Linked DNA regions of Homo sapiens: all the other regions are linked to region 2. Evidence: promoter capture Hi-C in human tissues and cell types (Jung and others, 2019). All regions are on one chromosome and are shown on one strand. The core of a region is centred on a gene start or on the middle of the fragment in contact, and the rest is flanking DNA. Distances in the headings are between cores, read along the strand shown.

Evidence for each region. Contacts are between HindIII fragments. The study calls those that stand out against the background at their distance.
Region 1: a contact is called between a fragment that was not itself captured here and the fragment with the promoter of FAM110D in region 2, in 1 of the 25 tissues and cell types used here (bladder).
Region 3: a fragment that was not itself captured here is called in contact with the fragment with the promoter of FAM110D in region 2 in 1 of the 25 tissues and cell types used here (neural progenitor cells).

The regions. Positions count from the first base shown.
Region 1 is chr1:25,970,133-25,973,303 of GRCh38, forward strand. PAFAH2 (platelet activating factor acetylhydrolase 2) reads right to left here. Exons shown (of 11, transcript NM_000437.4): 10 at 2,426-2,580. Among named protein-coding and RNA genes, the nearest start is that of PAFAH2, 26 kb to the right of the region's middle. The HindIII fragment of the contact is 4,625 bases long and covers 1-3,171 here.
Region 2 is chr1:26,157,818-26,161,144 of GRCh38, forward strand. It overlaps FAM110D (family with sequence similarity 110 member D), which reads left to right and starts at 1,262. Exons shown (of 2, transcript NM_024869.3): 1 at 1,262-1,309. The HindIII fragment of the contact is 16,538 bases long and covers 1-3,327 here.
Region 3 is chr1:25,912,189-25,915,346 of GRCh38, forward strand. No RefSeq gene overlaps it. Among named protein-coding and RNA genes, the nearest start is that of MIR3917, 7.3 kb to the left of the region's middle. The HindIII fragment of the contact is 5,467 bases long and covers 1-3,158 here.

The sequences.
Region 1 (3,171 bases), core at 181-2,680, 190 kb before region 2:
TGAATGCACTCAGGTCATCCAACTAAAAGGCTAGTGTCCAGAGCACAGAGACGGCCAGGCGCGATGGCTCACACCTGTAATCCCAGCACTTTGGGAGGCCGAGGCAGGTGGATCACTGGAGGTTAGGAGTTCGAGACCAGCCAGGCCAACATGGTGAAACCCTGTCTCTACTAAAAATACAAAAAGTAGCTGGGTGTGGTGGCACATGCCTGTAGTCCCAGCTACTTGGGAGGCTGTGGCAGGAGAACTGCCGGAGAATCGCTTGAACCCAGGAGGTTGAGGTTGCAGTGAGCTGAGATCACACCACTGCACTCCAGCCTGAGAGACAGAGTGAGACTCCGTCTCAAACAAAACAAAACAAAACAAAAAACAGAGCACAGAAGAGACTGTCCAGGATGGCACCGGTCAGACCACATCTAATACATTATAGTCAAGTCAGGGCACCACAGTTTATCTATTTATTTTATTTTTTGGAGACGGTATCACTCTGTTGCCCAGGCTGGAGTGCAATGGCATGATCTTGGCTCACTGCAGTCTTGACCTCCCAGGCTCAAGTGATCCTTCCACCCCAGCCTCCCGAGTAGCTGGGACTATAGGCACATGCCACCATACCTGGCTAATTTTATTTATTTTTTTGCTGAGATGGGGTCTCACTATGTTGCACAGGCTGGTCTCAAACCCGTGGCCTCAAGCAATCCTCCCATCTCAGCCTCCCAAAGTAGCTGGGATTACAGATGTTGAGCTACCACACCCGGCCAGGGCACTACACTTTAGAAGGGGCACCAAAAAACAGCGACTCCAAAGGAAGGGGATAACAAATAGCAACATGGGGAATTGAACCGGGACAGGTGGAGGTACCACGAACATTTAGTTTAATAAACAGAACACTCAGAGAAGACTAGCATAGGTGACTTCAAATATCTAGGGAACTGCCAGGTGCCGTCTGAGGCTTCTATGGGTAGCTCTTGAGGGGTTAACCTGGGCAAGTAGAGGAGGGTTACAAACTAGGAGATCTTGCTCTTAGGTTAGAGTTAAGTCAAACCTTTGAAATTCAGACAAGCCTGGCTCCTTTCTCATGGAAACTGCCCTGCACACAGCACCTGCTGAGGGATCAGAAAGGGACCTCTGATGCAGAGAGCTCAGAGCCTAGCTGGGACGGGGCTACAGTGTGTTCTGGTGGGCAAAGAGGAGCTGATACAATCAAATTGCCTCTCTTGGAAATCTGTTCAAAGAAATCCAAAAAAATATGGCAGTGAGCAGTGGGAGCTGAAGATGAAAGGATGCCGCAAGCTAAAGGGAACACACTCTGAGTGGTTCAAGCCGAGTGAAGTTATGAGGAAGCAGAAATGGAATAAACAGCTGCTATCAGTGAGAGAAAAACCACAGAGCAGAAAAAAAAATGCATAACGGAACAAAGAAAAAGAGATGTCGTGAGAGGAAGACACAGAGAGACTGAACCCATGAGACAGACGGAAAGAAAAGTCAGTCCTGCCAGCCACCCTGATTTCTATAACTGCACTCCCACCCAGTCCAGGTGCACTCTCATAAACAAACTCCCCTTTTTTTCTCAAGCTAAGTTTGTGAACCTCTAGTCTTTGTAACCAATAAAGCTTAATAAGAGGATGCCTCCTCTGGGTGGAAGCTGGACCATGGACCTCTGCAGGCCTCGCCCTTTAGCTGCTCTATGACTGATGACATTATTCATAGTCCTTCCATGCTTTGTTTCTTTAAAACACTTCCATAAATTTAGCCCGTTATCCTCATAAACTCCCCTACAATGCAGATAAGGTGGGCAATAATGAGTCTGGGTAAGGAGAGAGGTGGTGGAGTAGAGAGAGGTGAATACTCCATTTACAGGGAGGAAACCAAGGTTCAGAGAGGTTAAATGACTAGGCCAGGTCATTCTGCAAGTAAGATAGTCAGGATCTCCAAACTTTCAGTTAAGTATTTTTTCTTATTTATTTGTTTAATTATTTATTTAGAAACAAGGTCTTGCTCTGTTGCTCAGACTGGAGTTCAGTGGTGCAATCATGGCTCACTGCAGCCTAGACCTCCTAGGCTTAACTGATCCTCCCACCGTAGCCTCTCGAGTAGCTGGGACTATAGGTGTGTGCCACCACACCCAGCTAATTTTTTTTTTTTTTTGGTAAAGATAGAGTCTCACTATGTTGCTCAGACTGGTCTCGAACTCCTGGCCCCAAGCCATCCTCCCACCTCAACCCACCAAAGTGCTAGGATTACAGGCGTGAGCCACTGCACCTGGACTTGTTTTTTCTGTAATTCTATGTAAGTCTCTCCTTCACTCAGGTTTTCCATTTGCCATAAATCTCCTTCCCAGATCCCAGACATGTCAGAGTTCTCACTCTGCTGCAAGGAAATCTAAGGGACCCCACAGCTGCCCCAAGAGCCCCAGTTTTCTCCTTACCGAGGTGCTTCTGCAGGAAGGCCAACATGGCCCGTACCATAACCTCCTGCCCTTCATAGGGGTCCAGGCTCCCACGGGTTTCAGTGGAGAAGAATTTACCAATCAAGTTGCCAGTCACAAAAGCAAAGTCAGTTTGACTCCGATGAACAGAACCACTAGGGGAAAAGAAAAACAACTGGCAGGGGTCTGGCGGCTAGGGCATACAGATGTGTGTTAGGCACCTACTATGTGCAAGGTGCTTTTCATGTATTATCACACTTTATTTTCACAGCAACCTTGTAAGGGAAGTATTTTCCCCCTTGACAGAATCCAAGGAGAGAAACTATCTGCTTAGGGTCAGGTCATACAAGTAGTTGGGGATGGAGTTAGGATTTGAAGCCAGATGTGCTTGGCTTCAAAGCTGGCTTGACCCGTAGACTACAATGCCTGGCAGTGCAGGGAAAAGGTTGAGCTAGCAGGAGCAGGGACAGGAGCAAGGAGGTGGGATCTGTGGCACGTGGCATTTCTATGTTACTACAATCTATTAGCTGTGGCTTTTGCCTGGTGAATTTCAAACATTCACAAAACAAATGAAGTTATTCTTCAGAACTGTACCACAGAGTGAAGAGGGAAAAGGAATTACTTGCCTTTATTTAAACAATCAGAAAAGTAAGAGTGAGTGCTTTGTAAAAGGGGGTTTCTGGGTTGGAACTTAAGTCCTTTGGCAGAAAATAAATTTAATTTGCAGGTGAAATCCTTGCTAGGTT
Region 2 (3,327 bases), core at 12-2,511:
AGCTAATGGCATTTTGAAAAGTGCTGTAGCAACAAAATATGGAACTATCACCAACAAAATCCCCCCTTTAGGTAATAAAAACCTTTTACCGGGAGATGGGCCTTGGGTTTTCAGACCCACTACTGACTTGACAGGCAGAGGATGCAGTTCCAAATGTGGATTTGGAGCTGGGCTTTGGGCATCTCTCTCCCCCCTCAGCTCCTGTTTCCTTACTCATTAAGTGGGGGGTCATTCCTGCTGGACGCCTGTCTAGGGTCCTTGTTTGGGGGCGGTCAAAGGAGATCAGAGAGCACAGACGGGAATGTGCTTTGCAAACATGAAAGAGGGCTAGAAAGGAGGAGGAGGGACTTGGGGAAGGTGGCCAGCCAAGGGGGGAAAGGAACCTTTGGCCTGAGCACTGGTCTTAGTCTGGGCTGGAGAGTTTAGTTTGCCTGCTGGGGAGAGGGGAGGTGTCTCCTATGAGGTAGGGTTTCACCTTGAGACATAAGGTGTCAGAGAAGAAACTCTGATGGAAGAAGCTCTAAGAGGCTCCAAGTGTGGGCAGAGAAGGAAGCGGGCCAAAGGACCTGGGCTTGGCCCTGGAATCAGCCCCTCATCACTGTCTTCCCAGGCAATCCCATCTGCCATGAAAGGACCTTGGCAGAGGCAGCTCCAGTGGGCTCCAGGGTCACCTTCATGACAAGACTTGCCGCCACAGGCTCACCTGCACATCTATAGCACCAATGCCCCCACCCTTAGGCTGCAGATTCCTGGTCTCGCCCCCAGGGAAAGCAGGCTTGACACCACCCAGCACCCAGACCAAGACAGGTCTCAGCCTGCTACAGAGGGAAAAAAGCAAGTTGACTAGAACCCTGTTCTGCCTTCCCATTCAGACTGTCAGAGCATCTGCCACAGCCCAGGGAGGGGGCTGATCCCACATACGGAGCCCCCACCCCAGGCCTTTGGAGGAAGCCTGGGGATCAGGAGGCCTTGTTTGGAGTCCTGGCTCTGCCCAAGCTCACAGTGCTTCCACAGCCAATCACCTAACCGGGCTGGGACTGTTTGACCATCTGTAAAATAAAAGGAGCTGGACTTGGTTCACAGGTCTCCACAGCGCAGGACTGTGATCAGGAAAGAGTTAATGGAGGCCAGGATCTGCCTCAGGAAGGCGAGGGTTAATTTGGGGGGCGGGGGGTGGAGGCTTTCTCTGCTTTTCCTGTGGAGAGTGAGGTTTGGCTGCCACCAAAGTTACTTCTAGTCCTTGCTGTCCACTCCTGCCCTCAGTCTGGACCTGCCCAAGGACCCCTGCAATTAGGCCTCCCATGCAGAGGTGAGTGTACCCTGAGCCCAGGGCTGGGGTAAGAAGGAACCCAGGGGCCTGAGGGCAGGGAGACTGGTGCCAAACTAGTGAGCCTAAAAGATGGCCCATGCCCAGAGCAGAAGCCTTGGGCAGAGTTGAGACCACAAGTTTCAGGACTGGGAGAAGGCAGGCAAAGGAATGGAGGGCCCGAGGCTGCCTGCCAGGCTTCTAGGGCGGGATGTCTGAGGTCCGGCCTCCAGGCTAGCCCAGAAGGCAGGGAAGAGGCTGTGGATGACAGACTATTTTGGTCCTTGTGATTAGGAACTTTTTATAGTCTCCCTGCTCAGGGCTGGGGAGAAGAGGAGAGGACAGAGGGCACCCATGGGGTCAGACAAGCAGTGCCTTCCTGGGACCTTGGAATCTGACCCACTGCCAAGGAGACTCCCTGGGAGACAGGGAGGGGGACACTGCCAGACTCTCCTTGGTTCCCAGGCCTCAACTACCTATGAGCAGACTGACTACACACTAGATGCTGGGTGCAGGGGTGGGCTGGACCTGGCAGGGTCTCTGCCCCAAGGCCTCTCACAGACTCCTTCCCCACTTCCCTGGCTAATTCTGTTCCTTTGTTGTCCCCAGATCCAAGGTCCCTCAGCCTCCAGGACTCAGGGGGAGTAGGGGAAGATAGGGGTGGGGTCGGGTGTGCAGGGCCATGTGGGTGGCCCATTCTGTTACTGCCAAGAGAACTGTCAGCTCTTGATTTACAACCCCTCCTCGCTCCTTGCCCCAGCAGAAGGGAGGTGGAAAAGGGTCATGAGGTCTTAGGATAAAAAAGGGACAAGGACCCTGGGGGCAAATTTCTGGGAGTGGGAGCGCAGGTTATTAGGAAGAATTAGTGGAAGGAACTTTTTAGTGAGGCAAGGGGCCCATTTCTAACGGAAATTGCTTGGTTTTATAGCAGCGGGAATACACGCAAAATATCAGTGAGTTCTTTTTTTTTTTCTTTTTTTTTTTTTGAGACGGAGTCTCGCTCTGTTGCCCAGGCTGGAGTGCAGTGGTGCGCGATCTCGGCTCACTGCAACCTCCGCCTCCCAGCTTCAAGCGATTCTCCTGCCTCAGCTTCCCAAGTAGCTGGGATTACAGGTGTGCGCCACCCCGCCTGGCTAATTTTTGTATTTTCAGTAGAGATGGGGTTTTGCCATGTTGGCCAGGCTGGTCTGGAACTCCTCACCTAAGGTAATTCACCCACCTCGGCCTCCCAAAGTGCTGGGATTACAGGCATGAGCCATCGCGCCTGGCCTCAGTGGGAAGTTCTGATAGGCAAGTGAGAGATCCAATCTGAACTGCAAGGCAAGAAACCTGGGTGACAAAGCAAGACTCCGTCTAAAGAAAAAAAAAAAAGAAACCTGGGTTCCAGTCCTGGCTCCTAACTCTCAATAGGACCTGAGCAAGCCCCCCTCCTCTCCAAGCCAGTTTCCTCTTCATGAAATGGAAATGCAAAGGTTAAACAAGGTGATGTTTACAGTTTGGCATTCTGCGATCCCCTTGGCAGGGGCAGAGTAGCTGGCAGTAGCTGATAGGGCCTGGGGACCACCTCCCTCTCCTGCCCCGATGGCCCTGCTGGGCCTGGGCAGGGCAGTTGGCTGCAATTACTGGAGGCTCCTACCCTGTGGTTATATCCCCGACCTCGGTGTTTGGGGGCGGGAAGGGTGGGCCCTGCTGGAGCCAGCCTGTGGCTGGGAGCCTTCTTGTCTTGGGCTCAAAGCTGCTGGGTTGGGAAGAGGTATTTTTTCCGGTTGAAGCCACTTTCAGGAATTGGGCCGGGACCAGCCCTGTTTCCTTTTCCAAGTGTCCTGCTTGCTAAGGCCTGCTTGCACGACCCTGTGGCCAGATTGGGGCACCTTCAAAGGGGAATATGTTTCTGAGTGGCCAGAGAGACCCCACTCAATGTCTCTGAAGGACAGGGAAAGGGGATGGCCTGAGCCTCTGCTCCCTGGATGTGGCACCGGCTAACCTGGATGGGAGAGGGTGGCTGACTGATCCTATACTGA
Region 3 (3,158 bases), core at 153-2,652, 250 kb before region 2:
TGGTGTCCATGGTATGAATATTCCAAGATGCAGTTAACCAGTGGGATATCTGTGGCTCTTTAGGTTATTCCCAGTTATTCAGAATAGCTCACCATGCTGTAATGAATGACCTAGTTCATATGGCATTTCCTATGGGTGTGAGTATATCTGCAAGACATATTCCTAGAAATGGTATTTCAGGGCTAAAAGGCAAGCACATTTGTAATTTGGATGGTGCCAAATTGCCTTCCACGTTGTACCAATTCAACACTCACCATGTGGCACTTTAATTCATTATCTCAACTCATTCAAAAATGATTTGCAAGGCTTTGTCCCTAGAAATTTCAGGCATTAGAGAAAAGGAGGGGGAGGAGCCAAAATCCCAAGAAAGACATGGCTGTCAATTCTGTCTATATTAATAACTCCTATAAATATTTGACTAGCAACAGGCTGATCTCAGAACAGCTCTAGTGCCTGCACTGTGGCACCCGTCTCAGTCCTGTGACTCACATGGCTGCAATGAGATTGGAAGTGCACTTCCATTGGAAGAGACTGGACTGCACTGAGATTGGAAGTGCGCTGTGAGACTGGAAGCTTTCTGAAGGCAGGGTCTTTCTCATTGCTGTATCTCACTCCCCTCCCAATGTGCCTGGCACAGATCTTATTTATTTAATTAATTCTAAGATGTATTTTTTCCCCCACATTTTTTATCTTTGAAATCAGTTGGTCCTCATAGTCAATAAATAGCATGTTATAATTATTGGCAGCATTTTATCTTTTTTGTTGTTCTTGTTGTTTTGAGACAGGTTCTCACTTTGTCACCCTGGTTGGAGTGCAGTGGTGTGAACATGGCTCACTGCAGCTTCAACCTCTCAGGCTCAAGTGATCCTCCTGCCTCAGCCTTCTGAGTAGCTGGGACAACAGGTATGTGTCACCATGCCTGGCTAATTTTAAATTATTTTTTAGAGATGGGGTCTCACCACTTTGCCCAGGCTGGTCTTGAACTCCTGGTCTTAAGTGATCCTCCTGCCTTGGCCTCCCAAGGTGGTGGGGTTACAGGCATGAGCCAGTCCAGGCACACCTGGCCTAGACTGGAATCTTTTAAATGTTAATAGCTCACATAGAATGCTTACCACACAGCAGCCACTGGTCTAAACACTCCACATGTACTAACTCACTTAATTCTCATGACAGTCTTATGAGGTATTATTAGCTTAATTGCAAAGATGAGGCAATGAAGGTGACCAACTCTCCTGGTTTACCAGGGACTGAAGGGTTTTTCCAGGACTTGAGACTTTTAGTGCTAAAACAGGGAAAGTTCCAGGCAAGCCCAGATGAGTTGGTCATTCTAAATAAAGGAACTGATTCAGAATGCCTTTTTTAGAGGGAAAAATAATAATAAAATAAAGGAAACTGAGGCATGGAAAGATAGTAGCTTTTTAAAGTTTGTTTTTGTTTTTGTTTTTGTTTTTGTTTTAGACAGAGTTTCGCTCTTGTTGGTCAGGCTGGAGTGCAATGGCGCAATCTCGGCTCACCGCAACCTCCACCTTCCGGGTTCAAGCGATTCTCCTGCCTCAGCCTCCCGAGTAGCTGGGATTACAGGCATGCACCACCATGCCCGGCTAATTTTGTATTTTTAATAGAGACGTTTCTCCATGTTGGTTTCTCTATGTTGGTCAGGCTGGTCTCGAACTCCTGACCTTAGGTGATCCACCTGCCTCGGCCTCCCAAAGTGCTGGGATTACAGGCATAAGCCACCGTACCCGGCCCCTTTTTTAGATATGTCAGATGGGGTCCTTGTCCTAGGCCCTACTCTTTAGAGGGCTGCACCCTAATCCTCCTCCAGCTGTGTCCCTCCTCACAGTTCCCTGGGTCCAAAGAGATATGCCCGCCTGGAGCCTGTGCACCCCTTCTAGACCACCCTCTCAATACCCAGGACTCCAGAATTCCCTGCCAAAATGGCCCAAGTCCATTTTCAGCATCTGTGCCAACCCTTTCCCTGGTTCCATCCTCCCAAGGGCAAACTTCCTGCCAGTGAGTGCACCCCTGTGCTTAGAGCTGGCTGTTTGCAAGGGGTGTGAACAGAGGCTGAGCATGTGGGCTGGGGAATGCACACAGGAATGAGAAGAGAAGGGAGCTGGCTCTGCTACATTCTCACATGGAACTCCAGGGAATCCAAGAATTCTCAACTCAAAACCTGGCTTTCTAGGTTGTTATGGAGGTATATTTGTCAAGGTAGGAGGATAGAACATATATTTTTAAAAAATAGTTTGTTAGCTTGATTTATAACTCTTAAATACTTAGCCATATGGTATGTGGGCTTCCCTTCTATACTCCTGCCCTGGGTCTGGCAAACATTAGCAGCAGGTTTGCAGCAAGCTTAGATCACTTGTTCAACTAGGCCACACAGAAGCGGCAGAGCTTTTGTAGTCTGGCCCTGACTCTATGCTTTCAGCTATCACTCTAAACTGTTTTATCAGGCTACCCCTGTTATTTTACAAATAGGGGAGAAAAGACCAGAGAACTCTAGACATTTGCCCAATGTCACATGGCTAGTTCGTGTCATGTCAGGGGGAATTTGAATCCTGTCCTTTATATGATGCAGCAGGTACTGCTCAGTTACTATTTGTATGAGTGTGGGCACGTGACTTCCCCTTTTGGGGCCTGTGTTCCATCATCTGTGAAATGGGAAGAACACCCCTACCTCATAGAGCTGCCAGGACTAAATAAAATAATATATGTAAAGTCCCTAGCATTGTGTCTATACACAATAAACCCTCAGTAAGTGACAGCTAAGGTATTAGCTATCAAGGACAGCTCTGATCATGCCATTTTCTGCTTGAAAACATTCGACAAATTCAACTTTGGGACACATGATATGAGAAAAGCAAAAATTTCTGAAACCTAAAAAAAAAAAAAAAAAGACTCCCTTTCTTGGCTTAGAGGCCAAGGATTCCTGGCACAGCAGCTATAACCCTCCGTGAAGTCATTGCAGGTCTTTATCTCCATGAGGACCTCCAGGTCAGTCTTCCTCAAGGACCTCCCCCTCCTTTTCCCTGAGATTCTTTAATTCTTGATGCATGTGAAAATCTGTCTTCTTGGGCCGGTGGCAGTGGCTCACGCCTGTAATCTCAGCACTTTGGGAGGCCGAGGCGGGCGGATCACGAGGTCAGGAGATC